Linked DNA regions of Homo sapiens: region 1 is linked to region 2. The links are contacts of gene promoters, found by promoter capture Hi-C in human tissues and cell types (Jung and others, 2019). All regions are on one chromosome and are shown on one strand. Each heading gives the region's core, a stretch centred on a gene start or on the middle of the fragment in contact. The rest is flanking DNA. Distances are from core to core; before and after follow the strand shown.

The links. Contacts are between HindIII fragments. The study calls those that stand out against the background at their distance.
Region 1: a fragment that was not itself captured here is called in contact with the fragment with the promoter of OR4D2 in region 2 in 2 of the 25 tissues and cell types used here (small bowel and spleen).

The regions. Positions count from the first base shown.
Region 1 is chr17:58,037,825-58,042,621 of GRCh38, reverse strand. No RefSeq gene overlaps it. Among named protein-coding and RNA genes, the nearest start is that of SRSF1, 33 kb to the right of the region's middle. The HindIII fragment of the contact is 4,846 bases long and covers 476-4,797 here.
Region 2 is chr17:58,165,489-58,170,111 of GRCh38, reverse strand. OR4D2 (olfactory receptor family 4 subfamily D member 2) reads right to left here and starts at 3,130. Exons shown (of 2, transcript NM_001004707.4): 1 at 3,059-3,130; 2 at 1-474. The coding sequence starts at 456. The HindIII fragment of the contact is 7,868 bases long and covers 1-4,623 here.

The sequences.
Region 1 (4,797 bases), core at 1,649-4,148, 130 kb after region 2:
GTTTGAGACCAGCCTGACCAACATGGAGAAACCCCGTCTCTACTAAAAATACCAAAATTAGCCAGACATGGTGGTGGGCACCTGTAGTCCCACCTACTCGGGAGGCTGAGGCAGAAGAATCACTTGAACCTGGGAGGCGGAGGTTGCAGTGAGCCGAGATTGCACCATTGCACTCCAGCCTGGGCAACAGAGCAAGACTCTGTCTAAAGAAAAAAATTTAAAAAAAGTTGTGCTCACATTGGGATGGAAGGAAAACAAGTCATGGTCCCTGACTTCAAGGTCCTCACAGTCCAAGACAGGAGATGAAATCAAATTTAACTGTTAGTACCTATTGCTGACACTTGTGACCCCTTTCTCAATTTAGGAAGCACTTCACAGGACCTCACAGGATCTCATCTGTGAGGAACATAGGGATGATTATTCACATTCTACAGATGTGGAAACTGAGGCTCACAGGGATTAAGTGACTTGCTCAAGGTCCTATACAGCCCAAATTTTGAATTATTTTGACTCTTGCCTCTTCCCAGCAATGTCTCAATCCGCTCTTGAAGAAGTCTGTCCTTGCACACTCACACTCCTGGAGATGCTATAAAACAGGAAGACACAGCTCTCTCCCCTCCAGGGTCAGAATATCATACAGGGATGCCCCAAGGCCTTACAGAGTTTGGACCAAACAGTGGTGCTCTCTCTTTTTAATTAGAGTTCCCTCTCTCTCGCTAAAACCCAGACTTGGATGCACGGAGCCCTAGCCTAGGAAATACATCCAAATGGTAGACGGTATCTTATGCTTGAAAAAAAAAGTAAATGTCATGTTAATGCTCAGCATTCAGAAAATAGAAGCATTTGAGTTCAAAATGTGTCATAAATCAAATGTAATCAGATGTTAAAATAGGAATTTCAGCTGAATCACAAATAGATACCAAATTCCAGAGTGAAGTGCTAGACCAGGATTTACAAAGTAAGTGGCCAAGAATATATATGTACAAAAGAGTTGAGGGGAAGATTTAGATGAGAATTTCTTTGGAGAGAGCTGTGCTGCGAGTCCTACCCCATCCCTATCTCAATCATAGGTGTCAAGCCTGAGAAACCAAAATGGCAAGAGGTACAGCAGAGTACACACGGGAGGTACACATGAGGGTTACACATGGGAAGTAACTGTACTCACAGCGTTGCTGGGGCAAAGGTGTGAGCCATGACCGAGAGAGGGTTCTGCCCTGGTGTGGTCAGAGAACTCTACTCGAGAGAGTAGCCTGGAGGGACAAAGAGATCTCAGCCAAGAGAAGCTGGAGGTGTGGCCAGATTATGAGGGATGTGGATGGAGTAAGCAGAGAGCCTGAGGAAAGCATATCACCTGAATTGAGAGGTCCCCAGCAATTGGGGGGGTGGGGGGGGGCCGAAACCACCCACAAAAGTGTCACCATTAAATACTTGCCAAGTATAGGAAACCTCCCTGCCAGATCCTCACAGCAGGACAAATCCCATGGAAGCTTTCCTGCTTCTTTCCACTGCAAGGATCAGAAATCACAGTTTAAAAGAAGAGAGAGGGGGGACAAAAGTGCCCCCTCCTCTAAGTGCCCAGCCTGAACTGAAGGAGAGGGGAGAAGCCTCAATTTTATGTCATATTTGGAGTCTTAACGATTACATAAACATTTTAATCACTGAGTTGAGAACAGACAAAAGGTGACTAAGAAAGACCTAGAAAGTCATGGGATCTGCTTGAATTTTTATCCAGGTGCAGGTGACGTGCCAGCTCCACCAAATTTAAAGGGTTAATGAAAGAGGAAACTTGAGTTTCTTTAGAAATACATCCCATGAGTTATGCTTGTTTAATGTAACAGTTGTTCAAAGAATGTACTGATTTGTTAAATTGCTTTGCTACGAAAGCTAGAAACAGTTATGCCATTTATAAATAGACCCCGCTCCTGGGATGATGTTCAGCTATTGGGAGGAGATAGGCCAATGAGAGACAGATCTCCACTCTCAACGTCACAGCCTTGAGGGAAGTGTCCAGGCAGGAGCAGACCTGCTTCTACAGGCCTGGGGAAATTGCTACCCAAGGTCAGGCCTTCGTCATGGTCTGCAGCCGGTGGAACACCACTGGCCTATTCTGAGGATGCCCTGAGACTTGAGACTCTGCCAGCTTGCCTTGGACAGGAGAGACGGAGAATTATGCGGCTGAGCCTTGGTGCAAGAGGAGCCACGAGCACAGAATCTGCTCCATTTGTCCAGATGGGAGAAATTCTACCCTGAGCTGGGTTGAAGGGGGTGTGGAGCCATTGGTGCCACTTGCTTCTTGGTTCGCAGTGTGCCATCAATAGCCTCCTTGTACATCTGACTGCCTGGTATAAGCAGACTCACTTCAGCTGGAGCATGCTAGTGGGCAAGGGAGGATGGAAATAGAGCATGTGGAAATTACTCAAGTTGGCTCAGAGGTCATGCATCTGGAAGGCAACCCAACGTGTTCATCAGACATGTCCCAGCAAGTTTGAATTCAAGCTGAGACCTACCCCCCAGGTCCCTTCTCCCTGCCCCATCACATACATACACACTCATACATGCAACATTAGGAAGTAAAATATGAAAATGCCAAGAGTGGAACCCAGGACTTCTGGCACACTCCTGCCCACTGCAATAGTGTCCCCAGCGGCCTCCTTGCCTCAAAATTTTCCTCCTCAAATGAGGCCTGCACATCACCACCAGATTAATATTCCCAAATCCCTGTTTTAACCTTTCCCGTTTCTCAAGTATTGATCTTCCTGCCCTGGGAGGGCTCAACTCGTCTACCTTTTTGATCTTCTCTGGGGCTTTTCTCCCATACAGCCCTCCTTCTTCTGTGGCTGCACCTCTCTCTTTATTGGCCCTGAACAGGCTTCAAGTTTCCCTCTGACCTGTTCACACACTTCCCCCAGTGCGCAGAATCCCACCAGCCTCAGGCACATGAGCCAGAGAAGCTGGCAGTGGACTGACACTGTGAGACCTAATCACCTCTTCTGAGTCTGCCACTCCACTCTTCAGACCTGTGACCTGCAGGAAGCAGCTTCCATCTCTAGGTCTCCTTTCTTCTATCATAAAATTATTAGACTGGATAATTTTGAAGTTTTCTTTTGCAGCTCAAAAATTCTATAACTGCCCCAGTCAGCTTATGTCTGAATACAGTCTCAACTCAGTAACTAAAATGTTTATATAATCATTACATGTCTCTCCTTCATCTCTGCTGAAAACCCAAGGAGAGAAATCATATTTAGAGGGTAGCACAAAGGATAAAACGATCTGTCATGGGATTTAGGTTCACTTGGGTCTAGAATTACCTAAAAGGCAATTCCAGACCCAAGTGAACCTAAATCCCATGACAGATCGTTTTACCTTTTGTGTCACCCTCTAAATGTGATTTCTCTCCTCGGATTTTCAGCAAAGATGAAGGAGAGACATATAATGATTATATAAACATTTTAATTACTGAGTTGAGACTGTATTCATACATAAGGTGACTAAGAAAGACCTAGAAGGTTATGGAATCTGCTTGAATTTTTATCCAGGTGCAGGTGACGTGCCAGCTCCACCAAATTTAACTTTGCATTACTTTTGAGCATCTCAAATTTTCTTTGCTTTTGAGCATCTCCACCAGCAAAGGAAACTTTGTCTTTTTTTTCTTAGCATATTCTGGGTCTCCAAATTTGTGTTGTTTATGGCAACAGCTTGACTTGAGGCCCTGCTTCAAATGGTTGAAGGATTTTAAAGATTCTGCTGTCCAAGCTTTAATTAGACACAAAAGTTTCTGGGTTCATTTGGGGCCACAAGAATGGATTTTTTTTTTTTTTTAAGAGAGACAAGGTCTTGCTCTGTTGCTCAGGCTGGAACACAGTGGCACAGTCTTGGCTCACTGCAGCCTCAATCTCCGGGGCTCAGGTGATCCTCCTGCCTCAGCCTCCTGAGTACCTGGGACTACAGGTGTGTGCCACCATGCCTCACTAACACAAGAATAGGATTCTAAAAGAGAGAAATGGCAGAGGTTTAGCTAGAGTATTTTCCGACTAAATTTTCATCACTCAGGAAAGGCTAGAGACTACCACATAACAAGAACCTTGCCAAAGACGTTGAGATTTTGCCTGCTTATCTGCTCTTGGCAACTGTTCTGCTTCCACTCTGGGGATCAAGGATCACAGTGCCTACCCTCCCTTTCAATCATAAGTCTATTTGAGAAACCCATTCAGATGGACATAGGAGCATCAAAAATGCAAACATTTGCATTAAGGACTGGGCTCCCTGGGTACCAATCCTAGACAGCTGTTCTGTTAGTTGGATGACCATAGGCTAGAGTCGTAACCTCTCTGTGCCTCAGTTTATTATCTATCAAATGAAAAATAACAATAGGATTATCATGAGGATTAAATAGAATAATGCATGTGAAGCCCTTAGCACAATGCTTGGCACAGGTGATTCATAGTACGATAAGGTATAAATAACCACACCAAGTGCTCACAGTCACTCAGCTTTGTGCTCCTGAGAGTGAGGTTTGATAATGACAGAACACAGAGAATGCAAGGGCCCAGGGTCTAATCCTTGTTCTCCTTATCTCCTTGCCTTTGACATGAGTTCCAAAGTATCCCTCCACCTATCTACCCTTCAGCACCATGCTACAAAAATAGGAAGTAACATGCAGGCAGCAAGCAGTATGATGAGTTATTACGAGTGGCCCATAGAAAAGGCTTAAGAGGGCCAGCCACGGTGGCTCACGCCTGTAATCCCAGCACTTTGGGAGGCCAAGGCGGGCAGACCACTTGAGGCCAGGAGTTCGAG
Region 2 (4,623 bases), core at 1,881-4,380:
GCCTCCCACCCAGGTGGCTACCACCAGCCCCACCCAGAGCTGAGTGTTCATGACGGTGACATAGCGGAGGGGCCGGGAGATGGCAATGAGGCGGTCAAAGGCCATCACTGAGAGGAAGAAGACCATGGCACCTCCCAAAAAGTGGAAGAAGAAGATCTGACCCATGCAGCCCTGGTAAGAGATGGTTTTCTTCTCAGAGAGGAGGTCCACTAGCATTTTGGGAGCAGTGACTGAAGAGAAACAGAGGTCTAGGACAGCCAGGTTTCGGAGCAGAAAGTACATGGGTGTGTGGAGCTGGGAATCAGAGGTCACTGTGATGATGATAAGGATGTTTCCCATAACAGTGGTGATGTAGACAAACAGGAACATTAGAAACAGGAAACGCTGGAGCTCCCGAGTCTGCGAGAGCCCCAGGAAGACAAAGTCTGATACCCACGTGAGGTTCCCTGTTTCCATGGTGTTTTCTCCATACACCTGAAGAAAATGAACCACAGACACAGATACATGAAGTCACTACTTTCCCTTTCAGGGCTCAGGGGCTCAGAACCAAGGTTTTAGGCCCATATGATGAGCATCCTTATGTGTAGACCATTATACTAGGTGCTGTCTTGTCTCTGGATCGTTTACAAGTGGGTGCTGGAATATACATTCCTGAAATCTTAACGCCATCCAGAAGTATATACAACCTGCCTTTCAAAGATTCATATAGTGGTGGGAAGACACTTGGAGTCAGATACATCTGAAGTCAAATTTCAGGTCTTTCATTTCATTGTGATTTGACCATGAGTAACTTACTTAATCTTTCTGGGCCTCAGTTTTCACGGGAATTTGTAAGGTAGAAATAAAAATACCTGCTTTGTAGAATTTTCTGAGGACTTAAGTAGAATGATAGATATAAAGTTCCTAAAACAGTGTATGGAATAATCAATGGCAATTACTCACCTGTGTGAATTCTCTTAATCTAAAGATATCCTCTCTTCCACTCTGTAATAAGATTCTTTGCCAATTATTTTTCACATGACATTTAATACATCATCGTGTTAATGGATTTTCCTTGTCTATATTTTCCCTCCACAATTCAACTATTAAGTCCAAAGCCTATATCTGGATCTCACAATTTATTTGTGCCCTGCAGTACCCATTCTTAATGACAGTTAACTTAAAAAGCTCTTGGTGTTGACTGCTGCATGGGTGAATAGCTATCAGGTGCACAAGTTCAGCACAAGGAAGACACTGGATGCAGCTGGATGCCTGAGACATCCAGTAGTTCCCCTGCCCTCCACTGTGGGCGGCCCCTTATGAGTGAGGCATATGTGGTGGTGCTGAGACAAGAGGGAGAAAAGGGAGGGAGAGTCATTGGATTGAGAAATAGATGATGAATATTGTATGAAGGGGACTCAGAGAGCTTCTGAATGAAACAGGAATTTTACAAGATGTTACTGAATCCAAGGGTGGGAGACAAAGGAAGTTGTTGAAAGAAAACAAATAGAAATAGACAAAGGAATAAAGGGAGATGAAGGAATAGAGCAAGTGAAGGTAAAGGAAGTGGAAAAGTGCTGGGGAGGTGGAGAAAACGGGACTAAAGGGACAGAAGAAGATGGAGGAGCCGGGAGAGGTGGCTCACGCCTGTAGTCCCAGAAATTTGGGAGGCGGAGGCGGATGGATCACTTGAAGTCAGAAGTTTGAGACCAGCCTGGCCAACATGGTGAAACTCCGGATCTGTACTAAAAATACAAAAAAATTAGCCGGGCGTGGTGGCACACACCTGTAATCTCAGCTACTTGGGAGGCTGAGGCAGGAGAATCGCTTGAAGCTGGTTGGAGGCTGCAGTGAGTGGAGGTCATGCCACTGCACTCCAGCCTGGGTGACAGAGCGAGACTCTGTCTCAAAAAATCAAAAACAAAAAAAAAAGAAGAAGAAGATGGAGGGTGACAGGGGAGGGGGTCAGTGGTCTCCCCCCTCCCCCTGCCCTGTCTCAATCTCTCTTACCCTCTCTTACCTGGCCTATTGCAATCTATTATCTACAATATTATAGGTCATTCTAATCTTATTCTGCTCCTTCAGTTTACTTCCACTCCAGGACACCTTCTTTTTTTTTTTTTTTTTTTTTTTGTGACGGAGTCTCGCTGTCGCCCAGGCTGGAGTGGCGCGATCTCGGCTCACTCACTGCAAGCTCCGCCTCCCGGGTTCACGCCATTCTTTTACCTCAGCCTCCCGCGTAGCTGGAACTACAGGCGCCCACCACCTCGCCCGGCTAATTTTTTTTGTAACACGGTTTCACTGTGTTAGCAGGATGGTCTCGATCTCCTGACCTCGTGATCCGCCCGCTTCCGCCTCCCAAAGTGCTGGGATTACAGGCATGAGCCACCGCGCCTGGCCTCACTCCAGGACACCTTCTACACAGCTGTCCATGAGACCCCTCTGACTCAGATGTGATCATATTCCTCATTGTTATAATATTTGATTTGCTCACAGCTTAAAACTCAAACTCTCAGAAGCCACCTAAAATGCTCTGTGGATAAACTGAGGGTGGAAAAACATACCTACATACGTGCATGCAACTCTCTCTCAGCATTTCATACAAGACTATAAAAAATAGCCTCCCTATACCTTTCTAATCAGTATCACTGTCACCTGGGAACTGATTGCTGTTCAAAGAACTCATAGCTTCCATGTAGGCAGTATATTTCATTATTTTCATATCTTTGGTAATAAATCCTGTTTCCTGAAATGCCTTTTGCTACCTTCTCAACCTAGAGGCGATAAGAGAAATATCACTTTCCCTTTGACTCCTCCCCCCATTTCTCTCATGCAGAATTAATTCCTTATTTCTCTGTGTTCCAATAGCATTTGATAAATACCTCCATTATAGCATTTATCATTTTTTCTATTGCTTCTCTTAACTAGATTGTAAATTCAATAACTTAGTAAGCCCAGAGTCTATGACAGCATCTCTGATTTAGCACTTGCTCAGAAATGTTTGCCAACTTAATATATTAGCAGGTAAATGTGACTTTGTTTTATGTGACAATGTCGAGAATCTTGTGATTTTCCTCACCGTTGATGTCCTTTGCTGTGAGCATCCTCCCTCTAAGTCTCATAGGGCGAATTCTGTGCTTTGTTGTTTTCCTATGTAATCGGAGGCATCCGTTTTCAACATCACATTCCCCTTGCAGTTTTTCTTGAGTCTCTGCTCATCCTTTAGACTTACTATCGTCAGGTCTATGTCACTTGCTTATTACTCCCACCCTCTAGCAGGTGTTGCAAGATCTTTCTTACAGCTGATCTCTGTGCAGCTGAGGAAACACTGGTCTCTCACCTCCCTTTAGCCCAGAATGGGGCTTCAGTGTACATCTTCTTGGAGATCCTTTGCTTCAGCCTCACAGTTTCTTAGCTCCTGCCCTTACTTCATGAATAATACCATGGGTGAGACCCCAGGGGAAGGGGGAATATCCTTTGGGAGAAACTATTGGACAGGGCTCAGGAAGCTGAGCTGGGCTGATTATCACTGGGGCCAAGGGAGCAATGGGAGTTGTTAAAAAGTTTCTAAATGTCTCAAAAGCACACACTCTTTGAGAGGTCTTCCTTGGGGGGCCCAAAGTACCAAGCACATTGAAAATTTTAGAGATTTGAGGAATGGGTAATATTCAGGCCAAGATCCAAAAGGACAAGAGGGTCTTCAAAAAAAAGGAGACTCTGAGAGTTTTAGGAGAATTTCTTTCTTAGACCAGTGACACCTACCCTTGAGAGAATTACCTGAAGGCCTTGTTAAAAGGCAGACTTCTGTTCCCAGCCCAGAATTTCTCATTCAGTACATCAATGGTAAGACCAAGAATTTGCATTTGTAGCAAGTTCTCAGATAATGCTGATGCACCTGTTCCAGGGACCAGACATTGAGAACCAACGACTTGCTCTTCAGCACAATGGATAGTTCTCTTTCATGGTGTTGTCAAGGTAACTGGTTTGATTTCTTCTCCTTTTAAACTGAATTGATCTTTACATAGGCAACGTCATGGATGGGAAAATGTCTGCATACTAAAATGAAAACTTAATTACCCCATAAATCTTGTTCTTCATCTTGTCAACCAATACCCCCACAGTTGATTCACTACCCATATCAATTATACTCACACCATCTACAAAGTGCTAGCATTATTTACATGTCAATTATTACTCCCTTTAATACAAGGATTGGCACAAGAAGCCCATATATTTTCTAATTATGAGGAACTGATTAAAAATTGGAATTAACCAACACTGTAAGCTTGATGTGCTGTAAAATCTGTGTGATTTCTCACAGCTCTCTGATCCACGTGAGGTTCTCAGGTTGGTCTGAGTTCTTTCATTGCGAATGTTTATACTTGGCAAAATAAAGACTCTGCCTCTGGGGATAAGAACACGAAGTGACGTTCTTTCACATACAAGAGATGTCAATTTAAAAAAAACACAAATTCTTCCCATTATTTGGAGCTTTAGTCTACTTTAAAATTGAGCCACTCAGGAAAGTAGTCTAGATTGATGGTGGGGATGGGCACAGGCCTTGTTAATGTTATTGACTCTCAGATGGGTGATTTTGAATTACCTGGATTAATTCTTTATGATTCCGATTTAGCTTTCAGTAAT